4 separate regions of the Homo sapiens genome follow, and all the other regions are linked to region 3. The links are contacts of gene promoters, found by promoter capture Hi-C in human tissues and cell types (Jung and others, 2019). All regions are on one chromosome and are shown on one strand. Each heading gives the region's core, a stretch centred on a gene start or on the middle of the fragment in contact. The rest is flanking DNA. Distances are from core to core; before and after follow the strand shown.

What was found. Contacts are between HindIII fragments. The study calls those that stand out against the background at their distance.
Region 1: a contact is called between a fragment that was not itself captured here and the fragment with the promoter of NPSR1 in region 3, in 2 of the 25 tissues and cell types used here (adrenal gland and ovary).
Region 2: a fragment that was not itself captured here is called in contact with the fragment with the promoter of NPSR1 in region 3 in 2 of the 25 tissues and cell types used here (H1 embryonic stem cells and small bowel).
Region 4: a contact is called between a fragment that was not itself captured here and the fragment with the promoter of NPSR1 in region 3, in 3 of the 25 tissues and cell types used here (H1 embryonic stem cells, adrenal gland and small bowel).

The regions. Positions count from the first base shown.
Region 1 is chr7:34,554,880-34,559,572 of GRCh38, forward strand. The region is part of intron 2 of NPSR1-AS1 (NPSR1 antisense RNA 1); the gene reads right to left. Among named protein-coding and RNA genes, the nearest start is that of NPSR1, 100 kb to the right of the region's middle. The HindIII fragment of the contact is 8,266 bases long and covers 1-4,693 here.
Region 2 is chr7:34,758,213-34,763,015 of GRCh38, forward strand. The region is part of intron 2 of NPSR1 (neuropeptide S receptor 1); the gene reads left to right. It overlaps NPSR1-AS1 (NPSR1 antisense RNA 1), which reads right to left and starts at 60. Exons shown (of 4, transcript NR_033665.1): 1 at 1-60. The HindIII fragment of the contact is 3,418 bases long and covers 518-3,935 here.
Region 3 is chr7:34,655,674-34,660,325 of GRCh38, forward strand. It overlaps NPSR1 (neuropeptide S receptor 1), which reads left to right and starts at 2,545. Exons shown (of 9, transcript NM_207172.2): 1 at 2,545-2,886. The coding sequence starts at 2,740. All of the region lies in intron 2 of NPSR1-AS1 (NPSR1 antisense RNA 1), which reads right to left. RefSeq lists an enhancer at 4,584-4,652. The HindIII fragment of the contact is 11,658 bases long and covers 151-4,652 here.
Region 4 is chr7:34,587,563-34,592,070 of GRCh38, forward strand. The region is part of intron 2 of NPSR1-AS1 (NPSR1 antisense RNA 1); the gene reads right to left. Among named protein-coding and RNA genes, the nearest start is that of NPSR1, 68 kb to the right of the region's middle. The HindIII fragment of the contact is 5,620 bases long and covers 1-4,508 here.

The DNA.
Region 1 (4,693 bases), core at 1,290-3,789, 100 kb before region 3:
AAAAAAGTAGGAATTATAATCCTAATTTCAAATAAAACATACTTTAAACCATCAAAGATCAAAAAAGACAAAGAAGGGCATTAAATAATGGTAAAAGGTTCAATTCAACACTAAGATGTAAGTGTCCCAAATATGTATGCATCCAACACAGGAGCACCCAAATTTATGAAGCGAATTCTTAGAGACCTACAAACAAACTTTGACTCGCACACAATAATAGTAAGAGACTTCAACACCCCACTAATAGTATAAGACAGATAATTGAGACAGAACATTAACAAAGATATTCAGGACCTAACTCAACACTGGACCAAATAGATCTGATAGCCATCTACAGATCTCTCCACCCCAAAACAACAGAATATACATTCTTCTCAACTGCACATGGCACATACTATAAAATTAACCATACACTCAGACATAAAATAATCTCCAGCAAATTTTTAAAAACTGAAATTATACCATCCAGACTCTCAGACCACAGTGAAATAAAATAGAATTCAAAATGAAGAAAATCACACACACATAAATTTGCATGGAGATTAAACAACATGCTGCTGAATTACTTTTGGGTAAATAATGAAATTAAGGTGTAAATCAAGAAGTTCTTTGAAACTAATAAGAACAAAGATAAAACATAGCAGAATCTCTGGGACACAGCTATGGCTGTATTATTAGGGACATTTTTAGAACTAAATGCCCACATAAAAAAGTTAGAAAGATCTCACATAACAACTAGAAGAACTAAAGAAGCAAGAGCAAACCAACCCCAAAGTGAGTAGAAGAAAACGAATAATCAAAATCAGAGTTGAACTAAAGGAGATTGAGACATGGAAAACCATTCCGAAAATCAACAAATCCAGGAGCTGGTTTTTCAAAAAACATTTGAAAGATAGACAGACCACTAACTAAACTAGTAAAGAAGAAAAGAGAGAAGATCCAAATGTGCATAATTAGGAATGACAAAGGAGTTGTTACCACTGACCCTACAGAAATACAAATAACTACCAGACTATTATAAACACCTCTAGGCACACCAACTAGAAAATCTAGAACAAATGGATAACTTCCTAGACACATACAGCCTCACAAGACTGAACCAGGAACAAACTGAATTTCTGAACAGACCAATCATGAGCTCTGAAATTGAATTAGTAATAAATAGCCTATCAACGAAAAAAGCTCAGGAACAGATGGATTCATAGCTGAATTGCACCAGACGTACAAAGAAGTGATGGCATCATTCCTACTAAAACGATTCAAAAAAAATTGAGTAGGAGGGACTCCTACCCAACTCATTCTATGAGGACAGCATCATACTGTGAACAAAACCTGTCACAGACACAACAAAAAAAGGAAACTTCAGGCCAATATCCTTGATGAACATTGATGCAAAAATCTTCAACAAAAACTAACAAACAAAATCCAGAAACATATCAAAAAGTTAATCCACCACGATCAAGTAGGCTTTACCCCTGGGATGAAAGATTCGTTCAACATATGCAAATAAATAAATGTGTTTCATCATATAAACAGAACTAAAGGCAAAAACTGCACGATCATCTCGATAGATGCAGAAAAGGCTTTCAATACAATTCAACATCCCCTAATGTTAAGTGTCTCTACAAACTAGGTATTAAAAGAGCATACCTCAAAATAATGAGAGCCATCTGTGACAAACCCACAGTCAACATCATATTGAATGGACAAAAGCTGGAAGCATTCCCCTTGAAAACCAGCACAAGAAAAGGACGCTCTCTCTTACCAGTCCTATTGAACATAGTATTGGAAATCCTGGTCAGAGCAATCAGGCAAAAGAAAGAAAGAAAGGGGAACCAAATAAGAAGAAAAGAAGTCAAAATATTCTTGTTTGCAGATGACATGATTCTATATCTAGAAAACCCCATAGTCTTGGACCAAAAAATCCTTAAGCTGATAAATAACTTCAGCAAAGTTTTGTGATACAAAATAAATGTACAAATATCACTAGCATTCCTATACATTAACACTAGCCAGGCCAAGAGCAAATCAGGAACTCAATTCCATCCACAATTGCCACAAAAAGAATAAAATGCTTAGGAATAAAGCTAATCAGGAGGTGAAAGATCTCTGCAATCAAAATTACAGACGCTGATCAAAGAACTCAGAGATAACACAACCAAGTGGAAAAGCATCCCATGCTCTTGGAGAGGAAGAATCAATATCATTAAAATGTTCATACTGCCCAAAGCAATTTACAGATTCAATGCTATTCCTATCAAACTACTAATGACACCCTTCATAGAACTAGAAAAACCTATTTTAAGATTCATATGAAAACAAAAAAGAGCCTGAATACCCAAGGTAATTCTAAGCAAAAAGAACAAAGAAAGAGTCATCCCACTACCCAACTTCAAACTATATTACAAGGCTACAGTAATCAAAACAGAATGGCAGTGGTATAACAACAAACACATAGACCAACAGAACAGAGTAGAGAGCTCAGAAATAAGGCTGTACATATACAACCATCTGATCTTTGGCAAAGCTGACAAAAACAAGCAATGGGGAAAGGACTCCCTATTCAATAAATCGGGTTAGGATAACTGGCTAGCCATATGCAGAAAATTAAAACTGAACCCCTTCCTTACACCATATATAAAAATCAACTCAAGAGAACTGACACGAAAAACCAAAAGCAATAAAAACCCTAGAAGACAGCCTATGCAATACCATTATGGACATAGGAACTGGCAAAGCTTTCATGACAAAGATTCCAAGCAATCACACAAAAGCAAAAATTGACAAACAGGATCTAATTAAACTGAAGAGCTTCTGAACAGCAAAAGAATCTATCAACAAAGAGACAATCTACAGAATGGGAGAAAATATTTGCAAACTATGCATCTGACAAAGGTCTAATATCTAACATCTGTGAGGGGCTTAAACAAATTTATAAGATAAAAACAACCTCATTAAAAAGTGGGCAAAGGACAGAAACAGACACTTTTCAAAAGAAGACATACATGCAACTAACGAGCATATGAATGAAAGCTCAACATCACTGATCATTAGAGAAATGCAATTCAAAACCACAGTGAGATATCACCTCACACTAATCAGAATGGCTATTATTAACAAGTCAAAAAATAACAGATGCTGGTGAGGTTGCAGAGAAAAGGGAACGCTTATATGCTGTTGGTGGGGGACTGTAAATTAGTTCAAGTATTGTGGAAATCAGTGTAGCAATTCCTCAAAGAGCTAAAAATAGAACTACCATTTGATTCAGCAATTCCATTACTGGGTATATACTTAAAGGAATGTAAGTCATTCTGTCATAAAGACACGTCTACGTGTATACTCATAGCAGCACTATTCACAATAGCAAAGACATGGAATCAACCTAATTGCCCATCAGCGGAAGACTGGATAAAGAAAATGTGGTAAATATATAGCATGGGATGCCATGCAGCCATAAAAAAAATAATGAGATCATATTTTTTGCAGAAACCTGGATGGAAGTGGAGGCCATTATCCTTAGCAAACTAATGCAGGAACAGAAAAACAAATACCACATGCTCTCACTCATAAGTGGGAGCTAAATGATGAGAACACATGGACACAAAAAGGCGAACAACAGACACTGGGGCCTATCAGAAGGTGGAGGTTGGGAAGAGGGAGAGGAGCAGAAAAAGTAACTATCGGCTACTAGGCTCAGTATCTGGTTGAGGAAATAATCTGTACATCAAACCCCCATGACATGGGTTTACCTATATAACAAAACTGCACATGTAACTTCTGAACCTAAAAGTTTAAAAATAAACAAAATATAGAGGTTGCTATGCCAAAAGAAATGACATTTAACAATTATACTTTTATTGAAGTATATTCTGGATTCTATGAGTCAGAAATTTAGACAGGAGCAGCAAGGGGTAATTTTTTTCTGATCCACAATATACTTGGAGCTAGCAGCGAAGAACTGCTGTTAAATAGTAAAATGGCTGGAGGTTGTAATTATTGGAGGACTTCCTCCTTAATGTGTCTACTACGAGACTGAGGCTGAGGTAACTTGAAGACTAGGCTGAGTGGGAACCTCCATACAGCCTCTCTATGCAGCTTCTCACTGCATGGTGAATAGATTCTGAGAGAGACAATCCTGAGAGGGGACATTCAGAGAGTGGGCACTTCAAGAAGTCAAAGCAAAAGTGGCATTACTTCTTCTGAACTAGACTTGAAGATTTCACCGTTTCTCCCCTGCCAAATTATTTTGGTTACAAGTAAATCACTAAATCCAGTCCACCTCTTGAGACAATTGCAAGCTCTAGATGCCAGCTCTTAATGGGAGAATGACAAATTAACACTGTAGAAGAGCATGCAGGCTAGAAGATATTGTTGTGATCCTCCTGGAAAATGCAATTTGCCAACTCCTTCAAAGACCACATTTAAATAAAAGCAAAGAAATTTAAAATTATGAATTGGTATTGAATAAAGGCGTGGAATTGAGAGTCATCATCTGAGGAAAGAAATACTAACAAATTTTGGGAAGAAAGAAACTGAATACAGGAGGGGTAGCAGATAGGGTCAAGTAGATAAAGCTACATCTAGCACAGTTGATCCTTGTATAACATTGGTTTGAACTGTGCAGGACCACCTATATTTGGGTGTTTTATTCAATAAACATATTTGAGGTTCGTAACAATTTGAAAAACTGACA
Region 2 (4,803 bases), core at 977-3,476, 100 kb after region 3:
GTATGTGTTATCTGTTATGTCTGTTTGCTCTTACTAACATCTATATTTCTGAGTCCTAGACCTCCCCAGAGAGTGTGAAGTTCATGGTGTTTCATGGGAACAGATGTAAGCCCACTTGCTGAATCTCTCTCTGAGCTAATAATTAACAAATACATTGCACAGTAGCTTACCAGGAAAGCCTATACTGGTCTGAACAAGAAGAAACTTGCTGAACAATTCTAAAGCTCACTTCTCAATATAACAGCAGCCCTTGCTCAACATGTTGCCCATATCTTCAGTACCGTGCAGAGGTCACAGCCATCATATTCTGCCAGCTCTTCCCCTATGGGTTGAGCAACCATATGTGTCTTCCCAACCAGGACATTTTTCATTTTTAGCTTCTTGTTTTGACATAATTTCAGGTTTACAGAAAATCTTCAAGAGTAGTACAAATACCCCCATGTACCCTGTACACATATTCCTGAAATGTTAATATTTTTCATATTTGCTTTATCATTTCCTCTATCAGTCTATCTATAATACCTACCTATCTACCTATCCATCCATCTAAAAATGTCCCAGGTAATCAGCAAACCTGCTTTAAATGTCACCAATTATCCCAAGAACATCCTTTTTAGCACAAAAAACCCCGAATCATGTATTGTATTCAGTTGCCATGTACGTTTAGTGTTCTTTAACTTAGAACAGTTCCTTGGTCTTTCTTTGTATCTTATGACATCAACATTTTTAAATAGCATAGGTTAGATATTTTGTGGAGTTTCTCTCACTTTGGGTTTGTGTGATGTTTCCTTCTGAATAGATTAAGGTTATGTGCTTTTGAGAGTTATACACCAGGAATGATGCTATGTTCCTCTTAGTATATAGTATCAGCAGACACAGTATATCAATTTGTCCCATTACTAGTGATGTTATTGTCAGATTTCTCCACTGTAAAGATACTATTTTTCCTTTTGCAACTGACAAGTATTTTAAGAGTACATAGCCATCCTGATACTCCTTAAACTTTCACTCACAGCACTTACCATACAGTGTAGATTCCTGTCTGAATCAATGCTATAAAGGTTTCCAAATGATGATTTTCTAATTTCATTATTTCTTCTATACTTATTAGCAGTCTCTCTACTTTAAGGAAGAAATTTCCCTTCTCTCCCATTTTTAAATTTACATCATAGGTTCTTCTTTTATTCTGTGGGTTATAATTTGTTGCCATAGTTATTTCTTTTTATGCCTAGATTGCTGACTGGGGTCAGCAAGAGCCCTACAATTTGGTGCGTGTTTCTGTTGACATGTTTCTCAGCATTTTTGGGCATGTCCTCACTTGCCAGCACAACATGATGTTCCAGGCTTATCTTGTCCTTTTCCCAGCCCCAGGCCAGGAATCAGCCATCTCCAATGAGCCAAGTAAAACCATGGCATATTTAAGAGAAAGGGCCACAGGCATAATCATGGCGGGTATAAACTGAAACTGACCTAGAAATGCTGGGTCATATTCCCAATCTACCACTAGATGTCCTTCCACACCTCAATAGTTCTTCACAGGAAGCAGTCCTGGGGCATTTGGAAATGGTGGGATATTTGGAGTTATCACAAAGACTGGGGCAGCAGGGGTTACTTCTGGCATTTAGTAAGCACAGCCCAGGCATGCCAAATTTCCTGCACAGGACCATCTATCCTAACACAGAATTGCCCCATAAGTAGCAATCCTGTTAATAAATAGTGGCCCAATCCCTGAACTAATCTATCTTGTGTTCTAGTCTCTCAAGGATTGGCTTAGTTCTTTTCACCTTATCCGCCATCAGTTAATTTAATCACCACTGTTTCCATAGTGAGAATCTAATATATTAGACTGATCAAGTGTGTTAATCAAATATATTGGATTAGCTGGCATGCATTATAGCAAATAAAATAGCCAGTCTTCATTTTAGATCTAGTTTAAAGAAAGCCTCTACTTCTTATGTGTCAATTTTTGCAGAAAACATTATTCTAGCAAGTTGGCAAGGAGTCTAGGACTTATGTTAAGACACACCATCTCATCCCCAGTTCTTGCAGCTCTCTGTCTAGTTATTGGCCCTATTCATTGCATCAGCACCAACAACAGCTACCCAGGTTTTATAGGGCAAGCATTTTACTAAACATTTTACATAAACTATCTCATTTAACCTTCACAGTAGCCCTATAAATCAGGCATTCTTATTACAATTTTACAAAGAGCCCTGGATTCCGTGTGGTCAGTAGCAAGCCCAAGATAGCACAGCTGTCATGTAGCAGAGCCAACATTCAAAATCCCACAGTCGGGCTCCAGTAGCCATGCTGTGTACTGCCCATGCATGTAAGAACATACCCAACACAATGAAAAATAAGAAATGAAATAGAAAGGGCATGGAAAATATCAAATCATAACTGCAGAGGAAAAAAGTCAAATTTAAGCTTAGAGTTACTGCAAAGTTACTGCAACCCATCATATTTTATTTTGTGCTTCCTAGTTAGTGGCTAAAACTAAGGGCAAAACTGACTAAATATAATTTGTTGTAATCTTGAGGGAAATGCACAGCAAGATGTTTCTTGATCAAGAAAACTGATACTACGGAGCTTTATATTCAGTACTTTGATGAAACAGCACTAAAATGTCCTCAATAACATCTCTACAAAGAATCAGTGATTCTTAGACCTCTAAGAGGAGCCAGTGTGATGCCTAAACATAGGCATGTAGGCTACTTGACAGACAGACTCAGCATAGCAGTCATCATCACGTAGTAATTTCTAGCATCCTAGTAGCTTTCTCACTGGCTTTAGTTTTGAATAAATGGGATTTTTGCTAAGATCTTACATTATGCAACAGAGGCAACCACAAAGACCACCCCTAGAAAATGAAATGATCTTGGGCCCCTTCCTCCCTTACCTCCTGCTTCACACTGCATTCTTTGGGAAGCGGATGCTGAAACAGAGTCAGGTATACAAAAATCTGGGGAGAAGTCACTCCTGTGAAAGCAAAGGGAAGAAGTAAGATTGGGCTGGAGGACCCATCAGAGCCTGACATTAACCTGACAGTCTCTGGCAGCTCAGGAATCCTTTAGGATTTCCATGTTGGGTATAAATGATTAGACTCTTCTACTATAACTTAGTCATTGGTAGAGGTTGTACCAAGAATAGCATGATCCCAGCTAAAAAGCTGAGGCAAACCCTGAGGAATCTAACAGCTGGAGGATGTCAGCAAACCATATACCTCACAGCTGGACAGCAAGGTCTTTCTTGAAGGGGGATCTGAGCAGCATATCTCTATGTCTGCCTCATTTCCCTATGTACAAGCGTGTACCTGATTGCAGCAGAATGAGATGAGAAACAAATATTTTTTTGTTACAATTTACCACTTCCATCTCAGCCTGCTACCCCTTAGCTCTCCTTGGGCAAAGGGAAAAAGACATTTGAAGAGCCTGCCTCTTGGATAAGTGAAAATGGAACTCTCCTCTCCTTCTCTTGGATTTCTAAACATCCCAGATCATTTCTGTGAATTCTTTTTATTAGGAAAATAGCATCCTTTAAAAGAGAAAACAAGTTGTCTATGTCTTATATTCAGAGTCAGTTTGAGCCCCATGTTGTGCAATGATCTTGTGCAATGATAATTACATGCTACCATGCCTCAAGAAATTTCCCCTTAAGTGGAGTGAGGAGGAGAAATAGTGGAGGCTCAATGTCTTGTTTTAAGAAAACACCTGTTATTGCTGAACCTGATGCTTGTGCTTATGAGCACAGGAGTTTTTTGTGGCCCAGCAATAACCAACAACTCAGGTAGGCCAGTTGCCTCATTTAATGAGCTTCTTGGTTTCTGAATACAACAGAGGCAAAGAGAGTAAGTTTTACGAGGACTTGGGTTTCCTTAATTAGACACAAGCTTTTTATTTGGTTGGGGGAACTAATGGAGAAAGGGAGACACTAGCGGCATTTGTAACTTGTTAAGACTAATTGAAAATCTTAGGACCAAAGCTTTCTGTGAAGAGAGTGCTCTAATGAGAATAAATGTGATGATTATTTACCTAATTGAGCAGTAATGACTGAGGTGTGAGCCACTTCCCCAGGATTAATAAAGAGCCGGGGAGTTGACAGTTTAGACCATTAGGCTTAGCTGGTACTTCATCTTGGCGAAGGACACAGTGCCAGAATCATATTAATATTGTAAAATGAGCCCAAAACATAGACATATACTTTTGGAGAAATAATTTTAATTGGCTAAGTACCTGACATCAGGTTGGGCCATTCAGTTTTATCATTAAACAAAGTTTCACACAAGTTCTTCAAGACTTGTGCCATTTACAGTGTTCTCAGCATTCAGTGTTTAAAAAAGAAAAGTAGAAGAGGGACCTTTATCAATATCAAAAATAGTTTTTTGTGCAACCAAAAGCAAGCAAGCTATTATTATATATACACACTCGCTTTAAAAACAACACTAAAGACATTGAGTTGAGCTGGAAGCATTGCATACTCTGAGATACACAGTTGATATTGTTACCCACAGTGTCCCTTCAGGAAAGCCAGAGGTCATCTGCAACACCACAATTAAGGATAAAAGGACCTTATATTATCAGAAATTTCAATGTCTTCATAAAAATTGTGTTTATATTCAATATCTCCCTTATTTAGTGTGACAAATGTTCATGTACGAGTCATCTCAAGAAAAAGAGTTACTCAGCTTGCTACGTATTCATTATTCTATGGCTCTGCTATGCAGGGGAAAGTGCAAACAGCAACTGAGAGAAAGCAGGAATCTAAGACATGGGACTCAACTTGCCCTTTACACAGGGTGAATCC
Region 3 (4,652 bases), core at 1,295-3,794:
TCATTATACCATGTTAGTTTGTCTTCTTGTCCACTCAACTTTCTTCTAACTACTGTATAGTATTCCATTGTGTTATATACATGCACAGTTATACTTTATAAAGATGAAAGGGCTGGGCACAGTGGCTCACACCTGTAATCCCAGCACTTTGGGAGGCCGAGGCAGGTGGATCACGAGGTCAGGAGATCAAGACCATCCTGGCTAACATGGTGAAACCCTGTCTCTACTAAAAATACAAAAAATTAGCCAGGCGTGGTGGCAGGCGCCTGTAGTCCCAGCTACTTGGGAGGTTGAGGCAGGAGAATGGCGTGAACCCAGGAGGCAGAACTTGCAGTAAGCCGAGATCGTGCCATTGCACTCCAGCCTGGGCAACAGAAAAAGACTCCATCTCAAAAAAAAAAAAAAAAAAAAAGGAAACAACCATATTTATTATTTTGCTTAATATTATGTTTGTAAGTTCCATTTATGTTATTTTTGGCTACAGATCATTTTCTTATTGCTATATAGTATTTCATTGTGTGACTACATGAAAATTTATTCATCCAGTTGATGGACATTTGGGTGGTTTCCAGTTTGGGATGATTCATTGATTTTGACATCATGAATATTTAGGTTGCTTCTGATACGTTTCTTTAATACTTTGCGAAGGCATCATTTTGCATGACTGCTTGTATAGATACATAAATGTTTCTCTTGGGTGGCCACAGGTTAAACAATGGTCTATCTGGATCATGAATGGAGAGAAAAGGAAACAACCAGAAAGCTCTCTCTCCCCACCTATTCTCTGTCCATGGCATCTGCCACTTTCTCTCACTCTGCCCCTACCACACTGTGACCTAACCAGCTTCTACCTTCTCCCAGGAGTTCCTCACAGATTTTGTCTTATAAACATTTTCTTGAAGTAAAACATACCTACAGAAAAGTGCATATGTTTTAAGTATGTAGTGCAAAGAATTTATGTGAATTGAGCATATGTAAGTAACCCAGATAGAGATGAAAAATTATTAGCATCTAGAAATGGAACAATGCATTAGAGGATATGTAATTCCAGCTTTACTAAATACTGCTGAATTGCTTTTCAAAAATTACCACATCAACTAACTCTCACCAGAAGTAAAGATGTACACCCGTTTCCCTTCAATCTTGTCAGCACTTGGGGATAGCCACACGCTAGCTTTCACTATAATAATAGGTAAACATTCTTACTGGTTTTAGTTATTTTCCTTAATTTTTAATATGGTTGAGCCTATCTTCATACTCATTTGTTAGTTGGAATATGCTGCACTTGTTTTGCTATTGAGTTGTTGTCCTGTTTTGAACCTTTCCTTAAGAGTCCACAGCTTATCCAGTTTTCTACACAACTCACTTCTGTTTGCTGCCCTTCATTATAGACTCAATGCCTTCTCATTGCTAGAGCACTGTGCCCTCCTTGGGGCTCGATGGTTTATAATAAAGCTTCCCCAGGAGATCTCATGGGGGCCAGGTTCTTTAGTGGTGGCCACTAAAGCTACTACCTCTTATTCCAGGTGCCATAAACCAGTGGCTGGACCTGGTTGGTTCACAGAGTGTTCTCAATGTGAGGAATCAGGTATTGTGCTTGGTTGTCATATAAGCAGCTTAGTTCCCATTGTTTTATACCTGGCCTGCTACCCTCATTCATGTTACCTTCATGCCCCATAGACATTTGAGATTTGATGCAAACCAGTCTGTTACAGTAAAAGCACCACTGTCTAGGAAGTTCTGGAGATGGGTTATCAGCTCATTTACATCAGCAGCTGCGGGATCTTGGGCAAGTCATTTCACCTATTGGAGCCACTCTCTGCTAGCATAAAGGAGAACATAAAGATACCTTCCCTGCCTATCTCACAAGGTTGTTTGGGAAACTGAATGAAAGAACGTGTAAATGTGCTTTGCAGGTTTTTTGTGAAACAGGAATAGCTGTTAGTATTCTCGCCTAGCCCTGTCTGTGGTGCCCAGGATGCTGCATTACCTCCTTTCTACCCTCGCCCTGAGTATTGGTCCTAGGTAGAAGCTGAGGTGAATATACTGAAAGCAGTAAGAATCTTCACCAGGCCCCTCCCAGTCATATCACAAGGTGTTGTAGCTTATTGACAAACACAGACCTCATGTTTCTCTGAGAACCGCCCTGTGAACACCTAGATAGAACTAAGGGTGTGAAATACAAACGTACTATTTGCCTACACTTACGGAAATAAGAGCACATGACACAGTAGATGGCAAGGTGAGGCTTTAAGTCAGAAAGCAACCTCAGCTGAAACAAATGCATAATTATAATTTGATTTCAGAAGTGGAAACATGACCCGAATTCATGCACCTACTGATTAGTCCAAATTCCTTTATTGTTGAAGCTGGAGCAGAAGTGGGGGTCCACCGTGGAAGTAAGGAAAAGCAAAACAGAACAGGGGTCTCATCCAGGGAGCCATGTCGATGGCTATGGGGAGCTCCACCTTGCTCTTGGGGTGGGGCCCTGGCCCTGGGTGGGACTGTGGGGTGATGAGGGTTGTGCTATGCTGGCTACCTGGTGGTAATTGCCAAGGAGAGAGCAGCACGTAGATCCTCCCTGTCATCAGGCAGAGCTCTTCAGTGAGGTGGGCTCAGGGAGGGCTCTGTGCCTCCGTTCAGCAGAGCTGCAGCTGCTGCCCAGCTCTCAGGAGGCAAGCTGGACTCCCTCACTCAGCTGCAGGAGCAAGGACAGTGAGGCTCAACCCCGCCTGAGCCATGCCAGCCAACTTCACAGAGGGCAGCTTCGATTCCAGTGGGACCGGGCAGACGCTGGATTCTTCCCCAGTGGCTTGCACTGAAACAGTGACTTTTACTGAAGTGGTGGAAGGAAAGGAATGGGGTTCCTTCTACTACTCCTTTAAGGTAAGTTTCTTGCCTGCGACTCTGAACACTGACTTATAACAATGAGACTGCTGGAACTTAAGAGTGTCAATTGAAGTATCATAGCCAGTATTGTGAATGAGTGTTATTTTCTTTACTAAAAAGGATTTTTAAAAGTCTGAAGTGCTAAAACAACAAGCTGTAGTGTGCAGAGACCTAGATTGTAGTTTCTTAGGAATACAGGTGACGTTTTTCTTTCTGATGCTGCTGGAAATGTGTGAATCGTGAGTAACATTTATGAGTGGATGATTTTTACTTTCCCCCTTTCCTTAGGTGAAAGCACTTTTAATTAATCCTATAGCAGTACTTGAAATGTCTGTTTCTAGTAGGGGTTAGAGCTATGAGTTTTTTGCTAGGAACACCAGAGATGCGGAAAGCTCACAATCCCCAGGACAGTGACTGATATGATGAGAAACAACATTGAATAAGGCAGGAAGGACGACACTTTCTTTGATGATCCTTTTCATTAAACATCAGTGAGGAATATATTTCTTTGAGGGTAGTTGATGATGCCACCATTTGCAACAAATTACCTCCTAGAACAAATGAAGGACAGAGAGTTTGGTGAGTTTCACCTTCAAAGTATCCAAGGGCCACACTGAGGAAGGATCTTCATTAAGCTAATACTGTATTGTTTCTTATTCCGCAACAAGATCTTGTGGACAGAAATGAACCGCACATTTGGGAAAAGAACAGTTTCCTGCTTCTTGCCTCAGAATGCTGGGTTGTCAGGTTATTTCACACCTGTCTAACGATATGTTTAGTCATTGCAATAATTCACAGGTCTCAAACTGGTCCTTTCCACTGAAGAAAAAATACTTCAAAAAGATTCTAGTTGTTGCTTTGTTGGGTTTTGTTGTTGTTGTTGTTGTTAATCCTCTGTATGTTCTTGAAATGATTTGGTTTTTACACAATGAGATAGCATTACTGTAACATCCACCTCCCTACTGGAAGTTCACTTCTTTTGCAAATATTCAGAATAAAACTTTCAGCAGGGTGCTGTCCCAGGAGTCAGACTTAAACTTCCAGGGCCCTAATGATCCTGCAGCAAAGCAGAACCTGAGCAAACTACTCCTCCACTGGCTTCAGTGAAACCCTGTCCCTTGGAATCACCTCCTAATGCATATGCACATACGCAGCCCAGCTGCACAGCTCCACGATGTAGCTTAGAAAGTAAAATTAGAGTTTGTTGCCACTTAATGTCGACTGAATAATCCCCTTTATGAAATCAGCCTGCAGACCCAGAGAGTCTGTCTTGGCAGGCTGTGTGCACCCAGGAAGCACAGGACTCCACTCAGTATTGCTGCCTGTGTAGCCTCTTTGATATTCTTAGAACATGATAGCAAGCAGAATGAAGAGAGGCCCTCCATTGCAAAGGGAATAAAATCAGCAATAAGGTGGTTATTCTGAGACTCTGGCAAGAATCAATCTCAGCTGAAATCTCATTTGCCATTTTTTGAATATAGCACCTACAGGGATATTTGGAATATGTGAAGAAACAAATCCCACCTTGCTCTCTATGAGTGTTTGTCCTCTCTATCCTAGCAACATCATCGCCAGACACTAAAGAGAATCACAGCATCTCTAGCTGATTCCTATTGATATGTTTGCAGCAAAACGGCTGGACCACTGGACAAGGAGAAAAGCAGAAAGACAGGAATTGTGTTTGGCCAGGAGCTTAGAATGCTCAGATTCATTATTTGAGAGATACGTGTATTGACTAAAACCCTGTGATTTTTAGTTACACA
Region 4 (4,508 bases), core at 1,252-3,751, 68 kb before region 3:
ATAAACAAAATACTCTCTTATTCCTGGAAATGGCTACTAGAGGCAAGGTTGGAGAAGAGCACTTATATCTGTGGTCAAGTGGGCTTTTAAACAGGAAATTCCTTGGTAGGAAAGGGTCTGAGGGGAGTAGCCACTTCCAAAATGGAAAGCATGGAGGAAAGTAAGAGTCCCTGCTGTCTGCAGGAAGAATGGGTCCCAAGGGAGCTTAGAGCAAGGAAATGATAGAAGAAAGTGACTCAAACTAAATAGATATCTATCTTAGTACAAGCTGGACCAGAGCAGAGCTCCTGAAGCTTCCTGTAGATTCTTGATCCTGCTAAGAAGTGAGAATTACAATGTGGGAGAGCAGAGGGAAGTGTTGCTCCGAAGGGCAGCTTCACCCAAGAGGGAAGGGAGAGAGAGACTAGGTGTGTTTCCTCTATATAACTCACCAATCAAATCAGTTACTCTGGGAAGCAGGCTTGTAATGCCTATGGATGTCCCTCCGTATGAAGGGAGAGAATGGTACCAGCCCCCTACCCTTCCACTGCCAAGCTCATTTTTATCTTAGTCTATTGAGCTTGACCATTAAGCTTTTTGTCACCGATGAATACGGCTGCTCCCTCATGGGAGAAGAGTGGCCCAGGTCTACAGGACAGACCTGCTTCACCTTCACTAAGCCCATCTCCAGCACTGACCTCTGCGTCTCTATGTATCCTCATGAGGGTGCTGATGGCCAATTGTAATTTGCCTCCACCACATTCAGCAATTGGTCAGAACAGCTAATTAATTAGGACAACCCCAGGGTCATTTGGTTCCCAAGGCTGAAAATTTGTCCTCTATTTTATTTCTCATGCCAAATTACATCCAGAGAGCATATCAGAGGTTTTGAATAAAAATGAATGAATAAAATGCCAAATAGATAGATATCTTGAATTTGATTACTAAAACTGCTCCCCTAATCAAATTTCAGAGGGAAATTAAAGTCCAAAAATTAACACTTTTGCTTGTTAAAGTCCAATATTTATGCCTTCTAATTTCATATTCTGCTCATCTCAGGTAAAGGGCTTATGATAGAGCCCTTAACTTCACCTGTAATGGAAGTTACCTGTAATGGAACTTCACCTGTAATGGAAGCTTCTTCTGTTGCTTCCTGCAGAACACTCTGGATCAAGTAGTGGGAGAAACCACTCATACAGCTGACTTACCTCCCTCCAGCCTCTCAGACCCCATGCAGCAGTGCTACGCCCAGAGTTCCTTGACTTGGCTCCTTGCTACAACACATCTACATGCTTTTTCACTTTCTGTGTCTCTCGTGCCCCTTGCCAACTCCCAGTTTTCTCCTTCTTTATTACCACCCCTTCAAAATTAATAGAATTAGGATGGAGTTGAAATGTACAGATGTGCAGCTGCCTCATCTTCAGTTTCTAGGTAGTCACAGACTTCAGTAGATATTCCCAATTGTTCAGAAAGAACTTACAAAGTGGACTTTTGATATACTGCTGTATTTGTTGCTAGGAAAGAGTACAACCCCAAAGTTTATTCTTCTTCACTTTTGGAAAAGTACTGCACTCTGCGGTTCATCGCCCTGACAGGATGAGCTGATGTCTCCCAGTTGGAATCTACTCCTCTTGCCTTCTAGCTATTTCTGAGCATTAAATATGTTAGAACCAAAAACAGAAACGGTTGCTCCATGCTTCATTAGAGAACCTTGATAACATTGTCCTCAGGGACCACACCACATAATGAGACCCATTTGGTTTTAAAACATTACTTCATGAACAAGGAAAGTAGTTTTACTCAACTGAAACTATGATATCAATTTTTTTTATTTCTGTAATCATTAAATGCAACTTTGATGAATAATTTCTAACATTTAAAATGTGGCTCCTGAATCTCTCTTCTCATTAAAAAGGAAAAAAACTAGTTTTGAAAATAACCATCCCTCTCAGCTCTATTAGTGTATGGTTCAGTTTTTAAATAAATGCTTTCACTTAAAAGTAGAGTGTGCATATTAAAGAAAATTTGGATACCCAGAAAAGTGGACAGAGGAAAAAAGTACATGTAGTCCCATTATCCAAGAAAAATCATCATTAACATTTTAATGTTTTCACTTATAATTTCTTCTTAGTTTTATGCTTATATTTCCTCAGATTGAAAGTAGGTCAATTACCCATAAATTAAGCTATTAATTTAATGTAATGCTAAGTTGCGATTCCCTATTAGAATGCAATTCGAACATAAATCCCCATGGGTTTCTTTTAGAACCTGATTAGTTCACTCTAAATTCAACCTAAGGTATAAATTAATAAGACTATGTAAGAAAAAATTTTGAAACAGCGAATAAAGAAGTTGCCTGGCAAAATGTATGAAAATTTAAAATGCATTTTTTTTTAATCTAACATACCAATTTGGTGAAGCTTTCCCTAACATGTACAAGGCTGGTCTGCAAAGATATATGTCAAAGGGTGTTTTGGGGTGGTTTTGTCTGTTTTGTTTTGGAACTGCAAAATGAAGAGTTGAAGTTATCGCACTTCTCCACTCATGAAACATTAACTGCCATCATCCACACATGGAAGGACCATGTCTTGTTTATTTTCCACAGGACTGATTCTTGTTCCATGTTTCTTTCCTTAAAATCCCCAATCTTCATTCCCTTTTTCCTCCTTCCCAAGTAATCATATATCACATTATGATTATACATTATTTAGGATTTTTTTATCACAAGGAATAAGGCAATGAACATCATCCCCCATGAGCTTTCCATTATGGACCTCTGCAAAACTTTAGCTGGGACACAGGATAATATATAAGAATATATATTCTTGTCTTCCCAAAGTACTTTTGAATTGCTTTCCACATTGTCTGTACCATTTTTCATTATCATCTACTTGTCCATGTGGTTAATTTCCTTTCATTCTTTCCAATACTTGTCATTAACTTTTGTTAATGTAATGAGTATAATGTAGTGGTTCACCACTGTCATAATTCACATCTTATTAATTAGTAAGTTTGACTGTCACTTCATATACTTAAGAGCCATTTAATTTTTCACTTCTGAGATTTGAGTATACACATTTGTCTACTTTTCCTTTTGGTGTTTTGATTTTTCCCGAATGATTTGGAAGAAATCTCAAATATTCTAAATTCTAATCTCTTGTCAGTCTTAGTTTTGACAAGTATCTTCCTCCAATCCATTGTCTGTCTATTAATTTTGTCTATGGTGTTTTCATTTGATAGAAATCTCCATTTTTGATGTAATAAAATCTTAATTTTTCACATTGTGAGTTATATTTCTAAGGTCCTCTTTAAGAATATCTGTCTGACCTGAAGTCAGAAAGATAACCTCCTCTACTTTTTTCCTGTTATCTTTATTTTGACTTTTAATATTTATAATTCACTGGAATTAATTCTTGTATTTTGAATGATATATAGCTCTTTACACATGAGCTTCTATTAATAATATATCTTCTCCCTCATTGACATGGTACCATCTTACATTAAGTTCCCCCAAATACATGGCTCAGTTTCTGACTGTCCATGGAATTATATTTACCTGCTTGTACCTGAACCAGTAGCCCACCTATTTTTTTTCCTTTATGACAATGTCCTGGTATTAGGGCATATTCTCTGGTAGATTTAATCCTCACTACTTACTTTCTAAAAATGATTTGGGAATTTTTAAATATGAAAAACAATATAAGAAGCAAATAGAATTAAAAATAAGAAATGAGTAAGAATATACAAGATCAGAGAGACAAATTTTTAAAAATTGACCTAACTGGCATGTATAGAACATTGCATCTGACAGTGGCAGAACAGCATGGGGGAAACCACCCCCATGATCCAATCACCTCCCACCAGGCCTCTCCCCAGACATGTGGGGATTATACTATCAAATTACAAGTTGAGATGAGATTTGGGTGGGGACACAAATCCAAACCATATCAGTTTAATATTTGAAAATCAATGTAATTCTATACATTAACAGAAAAAAATTAAAGAAATAATTATTTCAATAAATGCAAAAAAAAATTAATGAGGCTAAAACCAAATTATGATAAAATCTCTTAGCAAATAGGGATAGAAGGGAACTTAATTTGACAAAGAATATCTATCTCCCAAAAAAACAAAAAAATTAATGGGACTAGGGTTGTCCTCCTACTGGAAATCAGTAGGTGACTGTGCCTTCCATGATGTGGTTTCTGTCAACCACCTCTACTCTTTTTCCAAGTTTTATACCCTTTGAGAGGTTCACAGCGAGGAGTATTGACATTGTCAGAAAATGATGATTTAGAAAAGTGGCAGGATTCCACGACCTGGAATGTTTAGTGCATAGAGTAACTAGCTTCAACCTCTCTGAAACCACTTGACCAAGAGGCAACCCTTGGGCATTCTCTTTCCTGGGAAAGGTCTAGGGAACAATAAAGGTCTAGAGAACAATAAAGGGATATTTCCAGCATTCTCTGCAGTGGGACATATAGAAGGTGCTATGGTTTGAACATTTGTCCCCTCCTAAACTCATATTG